Linked DNA regions of Homo sapiens: regions 2, 3 and 4 are each linked to region 1. The links are contacts of gene promoters, found by promoter capture Hi-C in human tissues and cell types (Jung and others, 2019). All regions are on one chromosome and are shown on one strand. The core of a region is centred on a gene start or on the middle of the fragment in contact, and the rest is flanking DNA. Distances in the headings are between cores, read along the strand shown. Region 1 holds the start of CALM1 (calmodulin 1). Region 2 overlaps DGLUCY (D-glutamate cyclase). Region 3 holds the start of RPS6KA5 (ribosomal protein S6 kinase A5). Region 4 overlaps RPS6KA5 (ribosomal protein S6 kinase A5).

Evidence for each region. The method cuts DNA at HindIII sites, captures the fragments that hold promoters and counts their contacts. A contact is called where the count stands out against the background at its distance.
Region 2: a fragment that was not itself captured here is called in contact with the fragment with the promoter of CALM1 in region 1 in 1 of the 25 tissues and cell types used here (dorsolateral prefrontal cortex).
Region 3: a contact is called between the fragment with the promoter of RPS6KA5 here and the fragment with the promoter of CALM1 in region 1, in 1 of the 25 tissues and cell types used here (dorsolateral prefrontal cortex).
Region 4: a contact is called between a fragment that was not itself captured here and the fragment with the promoter of CALM1 in region 1, in 1 of the 25 tissues and cell types used here (spleen).

Annotation. Positions count from the first base shown.
Region 1 is chr14:90,395,142-90,398,533 of GRCh38, reverse strand. CALM1 (calmodulin 1) reads right to left here and starts at 1,505. Exons shown (of 6, transcript NM_006888.6): 1 at 1,301-1,505. The coding sequence starts at 1,303. RefSeq lists enhancers at 1-73, 1,244-1,293, 1,415-1,709 and silencers at 134-203, 244-313, 394-943, 954-1,113, 1,394-1,813. The HindIII fragment of the contact is 12,028 bases long and covers 1-3,392 here.
Region 2 is chr14:91,119,766-91,123,157 of GRCh38, reverse strand. The region is part of intron 1 of DGLUCY (D-glutamate cyclase); the gene reads right to left. Among named protein-coding and RNA genes, the nearest start is that of SNORA11B, 5.0 kb to the left of the region's middle. RefSeq lists an enhancer at 2,614-3,392. The HindIII fragment of the contact is 7,327 bases long and covers 1-3,392 here.
Region 3 is chr14:91,058,733-91,062,124 of GRCh38, reverse strand. It overlaps RPS6KA5 (ribosomal protein S6 kinase A5), which reads left to right and starts at 1,484. Exons shown (of 17, transcript NM_004755.4): 1 at 1,484-1,793. The coding sequence starts at 1,691. It also overlaps a transcript of DGLUCY not described here. RefSeq lists silencers at 982-1,111, 1,332-1,391, 1,762-1,891, 1,962-2,031 and an enhancer at 1,174-1,754. The HindIII fragment of the contact is 3,623 bases long and covers 1-2,820 here.
Region 4 is chr14:90,920,214-90,923,605 of GRCh38, reverse strand. It overlaps RPS6KA5 (ribosomal protein S6 kinase A5), which reads left to right. Exons shown (of 17, transcript NM_004755.4): 6 at 410-493; 7 at 3,297-3,392. Among named protein-coding and RNA genes, the nearest start is that of LINC02321, 94 kb to the right of the region's middle. The HindIII fragment of the contact is 8,054 bases long and covers 1-3,392 here.

The sequences.
Region 1 (3,392 bases), core at 256-2,755:
TGTCAGCCCTGCACGCCGAGGAGGAAGGGGCTGTGGAAAACACACCCAGCGAGGCGCACAGTCGCATCTGGCAATCTAGAGGCTGCAGAGAAAGCAGAAACGTGGAGGGCATCTCTCTGCGGACTGGAAGTGGCGCGGGGCGAGGGACCGGGCAGGGCGCGTGCCCGGGGGCAGGCGTGGGGGGGAAGGCGGCCCCCGAGCGGGCGTCTGGACGCCGCCCCTCCTCGGCCAGGAGGGTCACCACCCCCGGCCCCCGCGCACCAGGGCTGAGGCCAAGGCCACCCGCACCTCCCACCCGCTTCTGCTCCCCCAGGCGACGAGCCCGCGGCGCCGCCGCCTCCTCCCGGAGCAGAAACTTTGCGTCTCTAATGGAAACCAAGCCGCGCGCCAGTTCCCTCCTCCCCCGCCGCCCCCCCCCCCCGCCCCAATTAGCGCGAGCCCAGCGCCTCCCGCGGGAAGTGCCTCCTGGTGCACCGAGGCTCACGCCCGCCCGCACTGCTGCACTGGGTGGGGGGCCGCAGGGTGCGAAAGCGGCAGGAACAAGCCACGGCCACACCGCAGGGCCCCGCCCGGGCGCAGGGCGGCCCGGCCGCCGCTTCCGCCCTCTCCGCCCCCAACCCCTCGCCTTCCTGCCCCCAACCCCACCCTTCCCCGGCTCCTTCCTTCCCAGCCCACGCCCGCGCCGCGCCCCCCGGGAAGAAGGAGGGGAGAGCGACCGAGGGAGGGCGCCCAGCAGGGCCGGCCAAAGTGGGGAGGTGGCGGGCGCTGACTGCGCCCCTCAACACCCGGCCGGAACAATGTGCGCCACCGGCCAGCTCCAGCCCATTCATTCTCCACTGCCCGCCCGACCTGCCACCTTCGCGCCGGCGGAGAAGCGGGGTGGGGAGGGGCGGGCCGGGGGGGGGGGTCTAGTGCCCGGCCCCGCCCGGCTCCCAGGCCGAAACGCTGCGCTGCAGGCAGCCCGGGTGCGGCGCTAGTGGATGCAGTGGGTGCGGGGCTGGGCGGGGGGCAGGGGGATTGGATGCAGAAACCCCCGCTGCAGTTGCGGCCGGAGCCCCTGCCCGTGGACGGCCTACGACCAAGTCCAGCTCCAAGGGGAACCAATAAATGAAGCTCCCTGGCAGAGGTCGCCGAGATGCAAATCCAAAATGCAACCTCCTTTAAGCGCAGCTGCTGCGTAACACTCAGAAAAGAAAAACCTCCAAGAACCAAAAACAAACAAAAAACAAACAAAACAACTAGAAATCTGGGAAGAAATCTCGGGCAGCTGCTACGCCGGCATTTGCCACTCCCGACCTACCATGGTGCGAGCGAAGGGAGGAAGAGCAGAGGGAGCGAGGGTGGCTGCACCAGCGCGGGGGCTGCGACGGCGGGGGTACCTCCGATGCCGCTGCTGCTGCTGCTGCTGCTAAGGCGCGCTGTGCGCTATGCCGCCGCCGCCGCCTGCGCCGCCGCCTGACTACGAGTAACGGCACGGCGTCCACGACACTCCCAGCACCACTGCCGGAGCGCGAGTCTGCGCCCCGCGATATATATATGGTGCGCCGTATCCCTCCGCCGCGGCGGAGCCGCCTCGCGCAGAGCGGCGCTGCGGCAGCCGGGCCTTGCCCGCCTGGTCCCGCCCCCGGGTTCGCCAGGCCTCCCGCCGCCCCCTGCGCGCCAGTCGCGGCGGCCCTACGCTGGGTCGGGGAAGCGTTCTAGGCTGGGCGCGCGGTCTCGGGTCAGGTGTGGCGGGGAGTCCTCAGGAGACGCCCACCCTGGGCGGGGGCGAAGACAGAGCGCCTGCTTAGTCCAACCTGGGGGCGGCCCAGAGCTTCGGAAGCCGTTCACTCCGCTACCTACCCCAGCCTCACCCCACCTGGGTGACCCTCCCACCTCAACATCTCCAACCGCTCCACTAGGGCTGCCGGCTCCCGCGTGCCCCTCGTCCTTGGGTCTGCAGCGGCCACTTCCAGTTTGGGGTGCTGCAGGAGGTCCTGAGAGTAGGGGGTCCGCGGGGAGGTGGAGGCAGATTGGCCACACTCCTTCAGCTGCCGAGGAGAGGGGTCTGCAGAGGACGAGGTAGTTGTCCTCCTGGAAGAAATTGGTCCTCTTCGGATTTTGGAGCAGTATCCGAGTCAAATTATTTATGCTCAGTTGCTAAATCTGTGTCATGCTGCGATGTTTAATCAGTCTTTAATGTTTTTACGTTTCCACTGAATATTTTTTAGGATGCCTGAATATTTCTCCCCTACTATTTTGTTCTTTTTCCTGGCGCCCGTCTTACTAAAATTAGTGTACCTGTGCAGCTTCTACAGACCTTAAACCCAGGCTTTAAATTTTTCGTAATTTTCCTGATCCTGAGAAGGGTCAGAGTCTTTATTCATAAATCCATAGAAACAAGGGAAAAAATAGATGCTTCAAATCCTCTGCATTACAAGTGGAACACACAGCCAATTGCCTCTCTTATGGAGCTAGATTGTATTTTAAACTACAGTTTTGATTATATTCCTTTTAAAAGACTATTTAAATCTTTAAATATACTAGTGTTTTCCATTTTTTATTATATTCCTTTTAAAATAATATTTAAATCTTTAAGTTTACTAGTGTTTTCCATTTTTCTGTAAAGTAGAGAAAGAACAATTTCAGCCAGTAATGTGAACCCCAGGACTTGTAAAAATCTAGACAAAATGCTGCAGTTTCTTTTCTTGCCAAGGCAGAACACAGAATTTGATCTTCTGTTTTACAGGGCCCGGGCAACAGTTGGAGGTTATCATTTGCTTACTGTTTCACAGAATATGGCAAAGTGTGTGATTAACATGCTGTGCTAGAAAGGGCTTTGCTTGCTTGTGTTTGTTTCTGCTTTCAACAAAGTCTGCAGGAATATGTTTTTTAAAAAAGGAAAAATGTACAGGCACATTGCAAATGCCACAGGACTTCTTGGGATAACCTTAGACAAGACGTCAGCATCTGTGGAGCTGTTCCTACTGATGTTCCTTCTGGAATGCCGCAGAAAGAGTGAACCTGCTGTTTAATTTAAAGAGAGGCTGCAGCAGCAAGCCAGGGGATGCTGCCTTCCCTCTGCAGATTAGAAAGACACTATTCACTTCACAAACCTGATCCTAATCCCTGCAAAAAAATAATAATAATACTCCTGGGCTCATAGGGGAAAACCTGAGTAGGAATAAAGCGTGCATACTAATGCGAGAGTTGGAGATAAGGAAATAGAAGAAAAGGGACTAATACAAATTAATTTTAAAGAATATGCAATAATCCAGTCAGTTACAAGCCTAAATGGCCAAACTCCTTATTAAAACTGCATCTTGGCCGGGCGCGGTGGCTCACACCTGTAATCCCAGCACTTGGGGAGGCCGAAGCAGGCGGATCACAAGGTCAGGAGATCGAGACCATCC
Region 2 (3,392 bases), core at 266-2,765, 720 kb before region 1:
TGATACTTCAAGTCTGGTGGCCGTCACTAGTAACTAAGGTGGTGTGGGCCGAACAGAGTTCTCCCTGAGCACAGCGAGCAACTCTTGATTGTCTCTGTGGCTCAGGTGCCTGTCTCCTGCTAAGCCTAAGTCCTCGAAAGACAGGGACTGTGTCTTATCTGTCTTTATGGCCCACAAACCCAGAGTAGTGCCGGCTACATAGTGAGTGCCTCTTTGCTGAATGAAATGCAGCCTTAAGAAAAGAAAGAACTAGCCAAGCACCGTGGCTCACGCCTGTAATCCCAGCACTTTGGGAGGCTGAGGCAGGTGGATCACAAGGTCAGGAGTTTGAGACCAGCCTGGCCAATATAGTGAAACTTTGTCTCTACTAAAAATACAAAAATTAGCCAGACATGGTGGCAGGCGCCTACAGTCCCAGCTACTCCTACTCAGGAGGCTGAGGCAGGAGAATCACTTGAACCCGGGAGGTGGAGGTTGCAGTAAGCCGAGATCGAGCCACTTCACTCCAGTCTGGGCGACAGAGTGAGACTCTATCTCAAAAAAAAAAAAAAAAAACTTTTTTCTTTTATTATAGTTAAAATACACATAACATTGACCATCTTAATCATTTTAAAGTGTACAATTCAGTAACATTAAATACACTCACAGTGATATGCAATGTCATAATTTTTAATTTAAAATAAAAAAAATCTTTCTTTTTTTCTTTTAAAGGTACAATGGCTCACGCCTGTAATCCTAACACTTTGGGAGGCCAAGGCGGGAGGATTGACTGAGCCCAGAAGTTTGAGACCAGCCTGTGCAACACAGTGGAACCCCATCTCTACAAAAAATAAAAAATTAGCTGGGCAGGGTGGCACGTACCTGTGTTCCCAGCTACTCAGGAGACTGAGGTGGGAGCCCGGGAGGTCAAGGCTGAAGTGAGCTGTGGTTGTTGAACCACTGCACTCCAGCCTGGGGAACAGGGTGGGACCCTGTCTCAAAAAAAAAAATAAAAAAATAAAAAGCTCCTTAATAAAATTACTCTAAATAGGTTAACAGTTTTTTCTAAGAGAAAAAAAAAAGATATCATACAGAGCCTGATTTCAAGGCAATCTAGACAACAAGGTGTGAATACTGTTCTCCACTAAATACAACTGCTATCACTTCTTAGCTCTTCTGTGATCATCTCCCAGTGCTCAAAACGTATTCATCAAGCAAATGTGTTGAGCACTCTGTTAGATGATGGGAATAAACAGATGAGCAGACATGGCCAGTGCCTGTGAGGTGCTTAAAGACCAGAGAAGAGACAGATGCTTACTTCTAATTCCCCATGCTATACTGTGAACCTCTTAAGGGTAGGGGTTTTTGTCATTTTTTTCCCCCTGCTCTATCCCCAGTATACTGAACAGTGCCTGGCACACTATAGGCATTTTAAAAATACTTGATGATAGATAAATAATGAAAATCTGGCTGGGGAAGTAGGAGAAGCCTTCACTGAAGACATTAGTTGAGTTTGTTCTTGAAATTATTATTATTATTATTATTATTATTATTATTATTATTATTATTTTTGAGATGGAGTCTCACTCTGTCACCCAGGCTGGAGTGCAGTGGCGCGATCGCCACCACATCTGGCTAATTTTTGTATTTTTAGTAGAGATAGGGTTTCACCATGTTGGCCAGGCTGGTCTCGAACTCCTGATTTCAGGTGATCCACCCACCTCGGCCTCCCAACGTGCTGAGATTACAGGCGTGAGCCACTGCGCCCAGCCAAAAATATTATTTCTTGAAGAAAGAGTTACAGACATCCCCACAGGAGAGGAGGGTCTTCTCAGAAGCTTAGGTACAGAGCAGGTAGCATGATTGGAGGTGGAGTAGGACATGGAAAGAGCCATACAGTTCACTCTTTTGCCATTTACAGAGCACTTTCTGTGTGTCGGGAAATGTGCTTAAGCACTGGAGCTGCTAATGAGGAAGAGGCAAGGAAAACTGTGTTGACAGTGTCAGGCAGGTATGGCCTGGGAGACATTGCATGAGCTTTGACAGACAGCTGGAAATCAGCACTAGGAGAAAGGCTGAAGAAGTCTCTGTAGGTGACAGTGTGAGTGGTTGGCACACCTGGGGTAAAGAGGGAGAGGGGCTGGGAAGATAGACAAAGAGATGCTTGGGAGGGAGCATGTGCATAACCTGAAGGAGTATGAGCTTCATCTAAGAGCCCCAGGAGCACTAAGGGTAGGAGGATCCCCTGAACAGGCAGCACTTGGTGGAGGATGAATGTGAAGAAGAACATCCCTCAGAGACCCTCTGTCGTAAGTATTTGAGAAGCAATCCAGGCTTTCCCCAAAGTGAGAGAATGAGAGGAAGGGCTGATTTGAGGAACTGGAAGAGGTAGACTTGCCAGAACCTGATACCTGATTGAATGTATGCAAAAGGTGCAACGAAAGAAAGGAATCACAAATAATTATCAGGGCCAGGTGGGGTGGCTCATGCCTGTAATCCCAGCACTTTGGGAGGCTGAGGCAGGTGGCTCACCTGAGGACAGAGTTCAAGACCAGCCTGGCCAACATGGTGAAATGCTGTCTCTACTAAAAATACAAAAATTAGCCAGGCGCGGTGGTGGGTGCCTGTAATCCCTGCTACTCAGGAGGCTGAGGCAGGAGAATGGCTTGGACCCAGGAGGTAGAGGCTGCAGGTTGCAGTGAGCTGAGATAGCGTGATTGCACTGCAGCCTGGGTGACAAGAGTGAAACTCCATCTCAAAAAACAATAATAATAATAATTATCAGATTTCTTTTTCCTGGGATGGGCAACTAGCTAACTGTGCCATTCATGAAAATAAATACAAGAAGAGACTGATGAGGAATTTGGTTTTAGAATGCTAAGTAGGAGGAGCCTGTGAGACAGCCCCAGGCAGAGGTCCATGACAGGGTGGACATTCAGCACCAGAAGTCAGGAAGGACACCTGCCCGGAGGAGGGAGAGCTGCGAGTCATCAGCTTTTGCGTGGCTGAGGACACTAAGTGTATTAGTCAGGGTTCTCTAGATGGGACAGGACTAACATGACGAGGAGTTTATTAAGGAGTATTGACTCACACCATCACAAGGTTAAGTCCCACAATAGGCTGTCTGCAAGCCGAGGAGCAGGGAAGCCAATCCAAGTCCCAAAACCTCAAAAGTAGGGAAGCCAACAATGCAGCCTTCAGTCTCAGGCCAAAGCCCTGAGAGCCCCTGGCAAACCACTGGTGTAAGTCCAAGAGTCCAAAGCTGAAGAACTTGGAGTCAGATGTTTGAGGGCAGGAAGCATCCAGCACGGGAGAAAGATGAAGACTGAAAGACTCAGCCAGTCTAGTCCTTCCATGTTCCTCTGCCTGCTTTTGTCCTAGATGAGCTGGCAGCTGATTATATGGTGCCCACC
Region 3 (3,392 bases), core at 235-2,734, 660 kb before region 1:
TGACTGCTTTTGCGCTACAATGGCAGAGCTGAGTAGTTGTGAAAAAGGTCATACAGCTTGCAAATCCTAAAATATTTACTATCTGGCCCTTAATAGAAAAAAGTGTGCTGACTCCTGATCCAATCCATGCTTAGTTTAAAAGATCACATCTATCTGAATTACGTCCAACTGTACATCTTTAAGTTTCTGCTTTTTCCCATTCTCGTGTCTGCTACTAGAAATCAGGTTCCCTTTAGTTCTATCCTTGCAGCAGGATTCCTGCCCTGCTATCTCTCTCCTCTTTTCAGTTCATCACTGTGTACTAAAAAAAATCTGCACTCTTCAGCACAGCATCCCTAGTTCCCCATTATCTTACCACACCTCACCTTGTCAGCTGTATCTCTTACATCATACTTTCATCTAACCTTATCAATCACTTAACCCACCCTTGCCTTCTCTGCTGTAGGCCAATGCTCACAGTTACTCTCTCTGTGTGGAATGTCTATTGCTGGTATTTCTCTCTTATCCATCCTTTACGTTGGTTATCTCAAATGCCTCCTTGCCCTAAAAGCTTTCCCCAGTTCCTCGTCTGGGAATAATTATTGCCATCCGTGCGAGATTCTCTAACGCTTTGTACGACTGCTTTATTTCAAATTCTGCTTTATAGTTCTTTTGTGTACACACACAGATTGTTTCTCACGTTCTATTGAAAGCTGCTTAGGGGAGGAATTGTATTCTATTTTGTTAATCTCTGCATCCTTTCGGCGCCTAGTAAGAGTCTTGTACGAAACAGAAATGTCTCTCCTTCGTAAAATTCCTCATCGGGAGCTGGGACTGTGAATTTTTGTAACGTTTAAGAACTATCTGTTATTTAAGAACAAACACTCTGCTTAACTTGTTTAGGGTTCACTAGAGCGAGTAAGACCTTTTTAGGGCACGCCGTCTCGCTGGTTGTCACACACGCATGGATCGCTGCCGGGACCCTTAGGTTTGTCTGCAAACACGTGGGTGATAAGCGCTACCCTCCAGGCCCCTCCTCTGTCCACGGTGATTGGCGGACCAAACGTTCCAATCATCCCTCCCCGCCTCTTTCGGCAGTAGCCAATCAGAGACCCCGAGCGCCTCCTGACTACTAGACACTGTTTACTAACAGATCGAAGCTGGGGAATAAGGGGTGTGACCGTTCTGGGGAGGTCAGGGAAGGGAAGGTCTTGACTGCGAGTGCGCACCAGAGGAAATGGGCGGGGCAGAGCTTTGGGTCTCACCAATCGGAGTGGCGGCGCTCCTCCCTCTCCTGCCTCCCCGCCAAGCAACAACAATTCGAGGAGCGAGGCGGGGAGGCTCGTGAAACGTCACAGCGTACTGCCCAATGGGAACCGGCGTTGGCAGACGCGCGCGCCCTGTGTCCAATCAGCGAAGGCGGCTCGAATGGCTCCCTTACCTTGCTGGCTGTGGGCGGAGCGGCCTGAGGAGGCGGCGGTGGAGCAGGGGGCGGTTTGGTTGCGCGGTACTAGCGGTGCCCGCCGAAGGGGGAGGAGGCGAGGAGCGAGCCGTGCGGCCAGAGCGGGAAAGAGACTCGTCTTTGCGTCCGAGTTCTGGAGCCGCCGCACCCCGACTCCTGGGGCCGCGGCAGCGGCTGCGAGGGGACGGGCGTCCGCTGTCTCCTGGGTTCCCCTCGTAGCGACCCGCGGGATCGGAAAAAAAGGAGAAGATGGAGGAGGAGGGTGGCAGCAGCGGCGGCGCCGCGGGGACCAGCGCGGACGGCGGCGACGGAGGAGAGCAGCTCCTCACTGTCAAGCACGAGCTGCGGACTGGTGAGCGACCCCGCCCTCTGCCGGCCGGGCCCGGCGCGGGGGCGCGCCTGAGGGCACGCGGGTGCCCGCGCGGGGCTGGGGGCGCGGGGCCGCAGCCGTGGGCGCGGAGGGGCGGGCCTGGGGCGGGGCGTCGCGGTCGGGGCGCGTGCCCCGGGGGTCCCGGGAGGTGGGGGCGCGCCTTGGGGGAGGCGGCCGAAAGTTTTCCCCAGCCCGGGAATGAGCGGCGGGCACCAGGCATCGGGGCCAGCGCAGCCGCCGACCGCTGCCCGTGGCACGCACCTCCGAGGATGTCGCTGCTCCCCCTTCCCGCACAGGTGACACACGTGTGTCTGCGTCCTGTCAGGGCGAAAGGTGCGCCTGCCTCCGCGTGGGGCGAGCGGCGCTTTGTTTTGGAGAGTGTCTCCCTCCTCCGCCCCTCTGGTCCCCGCGATGGGGGGTCCCGGTGGGGCTCTGTGGAGCCATCCCCTAAGGTGCTGGGGTCCTGTAGGAGATAAACGGGAGGTTTCGCCTCGGGCTTTTACCGAGTCCAGTCTAGAGACAGGAACAGGAATCGCCGGCTCCAGGGATTGAGTGCCTTTATTCTCACTTATCATGAAATACTATACTTGGCCTTGAATTTCCTTCAGAGGTCCCTGGAGATGATGGCTTTAGAAATTTAAAGCTCCAGGTAAAAGGAACTAACGAGCAGGCTTCAGCGCTTACGTTCTAATGTTTGAGATCACTAGCGTTGTCCTAAGCTTTATAACTAATTAAATGTATTCGTGGTGTAGGTTCAGGTTGTTCATTTTGGAAAATGCTTATTCAGACCAATCAGTACAATTTGGATTTATATTCTTGGAGCCCAGTCTCGTATTGTAGATATATTAATACTTTTTTCTCTGAACAGATAGTACATTTTAATGAGTCGTTCGTTATTACTAGATATGTTTGTGAGCGTTGAAGGTTTTTGACAGAGCTGCTTTGGCATATTGGGATTTTTTTTTTTTTTTTTCAGACAGAGTTTCGCTCTTGTTGCTCAGGCTGGAGTGCAGTGGCATGATCTCGGCTCACCGCAGCCTCCGCCTCCCGGGTTCAAGCGATTCTCCTGCCTCAGCCTCCGGAGTAGCTAGGATTACAGGCATGCGCCACCATGCCCGGCTAATTTTGTATTTTTTGTGGGGGCGGGGTGGGGGGGGCGGTCCTCTCCACGTTGGTCAGGCTGGTCGCGAACTCCCGACCTCAAGTGATCCGCCCGCCTCGGCCTCCCAAAGTGCTGGGATTACAGGCGTGAGCCACCGTGCCCGGCCGGGTTATTATTTAATTGTGAAGGCACAAAAGCTTAAACGGCAGGATTCAGGTGTCCACTAGTACATCTTGTTTCTGTTTTGAACAGATTGGAAAGTTAGCTCTGTCCGTCAGTTCTTTCAGTTTTTGTTATTTCTACTGAGATTGCCTATAAGCATTCCATTGGGTGCCAGTGTGGTGACTTAATTCAAGAGAGATGTCAAATTCATGCTTCTTAATTCAACATTTGTAAACATTGTTTTTTTGGTCATTGTGAATCTGTTATACATCTTGAGCCAGCTGTTCCATATTTTTGAGTTCCTAACATAACCTGTA
Region 4 (3,392 bases), core at 486-2,985, 520 kb before region 1:
TTCATACTAATGTGTTAGACAGTTCATGTTGCCTTACTAGGACTATTTGCATTCTTCAAAAAAAGGGTTAAATCAGCAACTGAAATATACATGCATGCAAAAAGTGAACAAGAATAAATGAATGGATTCATGGAAAGGATGGATGGATGGATGGATGGATGGATGGATGGATGGATGATGGTACCATTTCATGCATGAGAAGTCTTTCTGATGGGATGGGATGACATATACCCAGGACTCATATTATGTAGACAGTGGTCTGTTCCAGTGAAGAGTGGGTCTGTCAAGTAGATTCTACCACTACTTTGCCACTATAGTGTATCTCAACCACTAACATGTATTACTTTCTTCTTTTGTCACTTGTCATACTAGCTTGAAATCAAATCCCTTTTTTGTTTGTTTGTTCAAGACTGAAAGAGCATATTCCTTTTGTGGAACTATTGAATACATGGCACCAGATATTGTCAGAGGGGGAGATTCAGGACATGACAAGGTATGTTCTATTTTTGATGCTTCTTTATGTATTTCTATAAAATGTACTATAAGAATCCTAGTTAACAACTTAGGTCATCTCTTCAACAGAGCCGTCTTTCTGGTGTTGATTGTCTTACCTTCCTTTTTTTCTCTTTTGCTTTGTATTCCTGAACACATTATGATATCTAGTATTTTGGAGGAAAAAGATAATACAAAGGTTAGGACATTCTAGATTTCCCTTTTTAAAGATTTTATTGGTGAGAATTGTGTTTTATTTTATAGAGTAACACTCTTGTTAAAGTTGAGACCTCCAAACTAGTCAAATAATTTTTATTTTATTTCTGTTGAGAGAGCCTATTTCTTAGAGTACAAACTATGACTCCATTCTTTTAAAAAATTAAGGGCCTGTAATCCCAGCACTTTGGAAGGCCAAGGTGGATGGATCACCTGAGGTCAGGAGTTCGAGACCAACCTGGCCAACATGGCAAAACCTCATCTCTACTAAAAATATAAAAAATTAGCTGGGCGTGGTGGCGAGCGCCTGTAATTTCAGCTACTCGGAAGGCTGAGGAAGGAGAATGTTTGAACCCGGGAGGCAGAGGTTGCAGTGAGCAGAAATTGTGCCATTGCACTCCAGCCTGGGCAGCAAGAGTGAGACAACGACTCAAAAGAAAATTACTTACTTATTTTTGCATGAGACCCTGGCCTTTTAGGATACAAGTGAACCACAATGCAATACAGAAGGGTCACGGCATGTAAAACTGCACATTGTTCCTGTCTGAGTCGTGATGAATGGTTTTGGACAGTATTTATTGGCATTTTTAATTTCTACTAGAAAAACATTCGGAAACATATAGTCATGTGTATCACCTTTAGTTAATAATTGGCTTTTTAAGCTGTCACTAAGAGGTCAATGAAAAGGGAATCACTGATATTTTCTTATTCCCAGTTTCTGCCTTTAACTTTCCAGAGACACTGGAGACTGTTGATTATCTTCCCAACAGAAATAAATATTTTAACAACCCTTGGTGAAAGAAAAAATCCTGAGTTCTAGATAGTTTAAGTTTGTTTTCCTAAGCCCTCTAAAAAGCTCAATTTTTTTGGCCTCCTCTCTTGCCTTTGTATGTGCAAAATGAAGATTCTAGAAGAAACTTTCTAAGTAATTATGTTATAAAATCTAGGTCATGGTTTTTTTTCTGTATTAAAGGGTACAAAATTTGTTCATTTTTTAACACTTCTGTTTTATTAATAGCTTTATCCAAATAAGGTATTCTACTTTTTGTTCCCCATCTTTCCTTCTCCTTCATTCCCTTTCAGAGTCCCACATATGCAGTTCAGATATCTGGCTGTGGAGAATCTTTGGTCTCCTTCCTGACGACTAATCATGTATTTAAAAGCATGTTCTTCAAGTTTGTGTGTTACTGGTTTTGGAACCCAGGGCTAAGAATCTGATTATTGATCTCTGTCAGTTGAATAATGTGGTTTCAAATCCAACAGCAAAACATTCTGAGGGTTCTGACTCAAATGGCAGTCAAACTGCTTGTATTAATGGAAGAGTTTAATTGCTGGCTTAGTTTGCTTCTTGATATTCTTTGAAGCTGTTGGGGAATTTGGTAGGAATTTATACCTGTTAATTTGAAAATTATCTTCAGAGACCTAATGGAACCAATTTTCACATAAGAAAATCTTATATTACTCCTAGAATTTCTACATACCTAAGGTGCAGAATATACCTAGTCAATAAATATTTTTTCCCACACCTGGAACAACCTGACAGTTATTAAATGATATAATGTATGCAAAGTGCTCATCATAGTGCCTGGCATGAGGAAAATATTCAGTAAATACCTTTGCTCTCACGATTTTAGTCTGCCTGATGTGTTTTGTATGTCAGCACTCTGTATTTTCTTAATAGCTCTAGGCTCATAAATTTTGTCACCTCTCTGAAACTTAGGCCCTGGAAATTGGAAGCAAATAGTTTGAAATTTTAACATCTAGTTAATATTTCTCATTGGTGTACACTCATTTATTCAATAGTTATTAAAATTCTGATTTGCCTAATTACAAAAGAAGTAATTTTCAATACATCAAGATTCTTTAGGCCAGGCATGGTGGCTCACGCCTGTAATCCCAGCACTTTGGGAGGCTGAGGTGGGCAGATTGCTTGACCCTAAGAGTTCAAGACCAGCCTGGGCAACATAGTGAGACCCCATCTCAAATAAAATAAAATAAAAGATTCTTTAAATTATATATAATTTTCTATGTTCTCAGTTCAGGTAACTGCATGTATAAATTGGTTTCCAAATTAGAACACATTTTATTTTATATTATTTTAGATCTTCCCATCAGTGAAGACTCTGAGGTTTATGTGTGATAGGTTCTATAAGAAAAATTGATTTAGGCAGTTAGGAAAAAATAACATACCCTTGGATGTGGTTTTTTTTTTCATTTATTGTTCTTTGAATTTTAGACATTTCATAAGGCTCACTGGAGCTGAATACTTTAGTTCCCTATCATAAGCCCAAAGAAATATCACCTACTTAAAATTTTAAAAATTTATATAAAGTTTAAATTTTTTAAATTATCAAGGTAAACGGTTACTAGTTTAAGAAATAACATGCTTTCTGTGCTGAGGATACTTGGATATTTGTTCTCTAAATGTCTTTCTTGCATGTGTTAATTTAATACTCCTTACATAGAAGGAGGTGTACAAAATCATTTTTTAAAACATTTTCCTAATAGATAGCTTTTATTCATTTTTTCTTTCTTATAAAATATTTTAGTTGATAATTCTATAAAATGAAATTATTGTTGTTTTATAGGCAGTTGACTGGTGGAGTTTGGGTGTTCTAATGTATGAATTACTAACTGGAGCATCTCCTTTCACTGTTGATGGAGAAAAAAATTCCCAAGCTGAG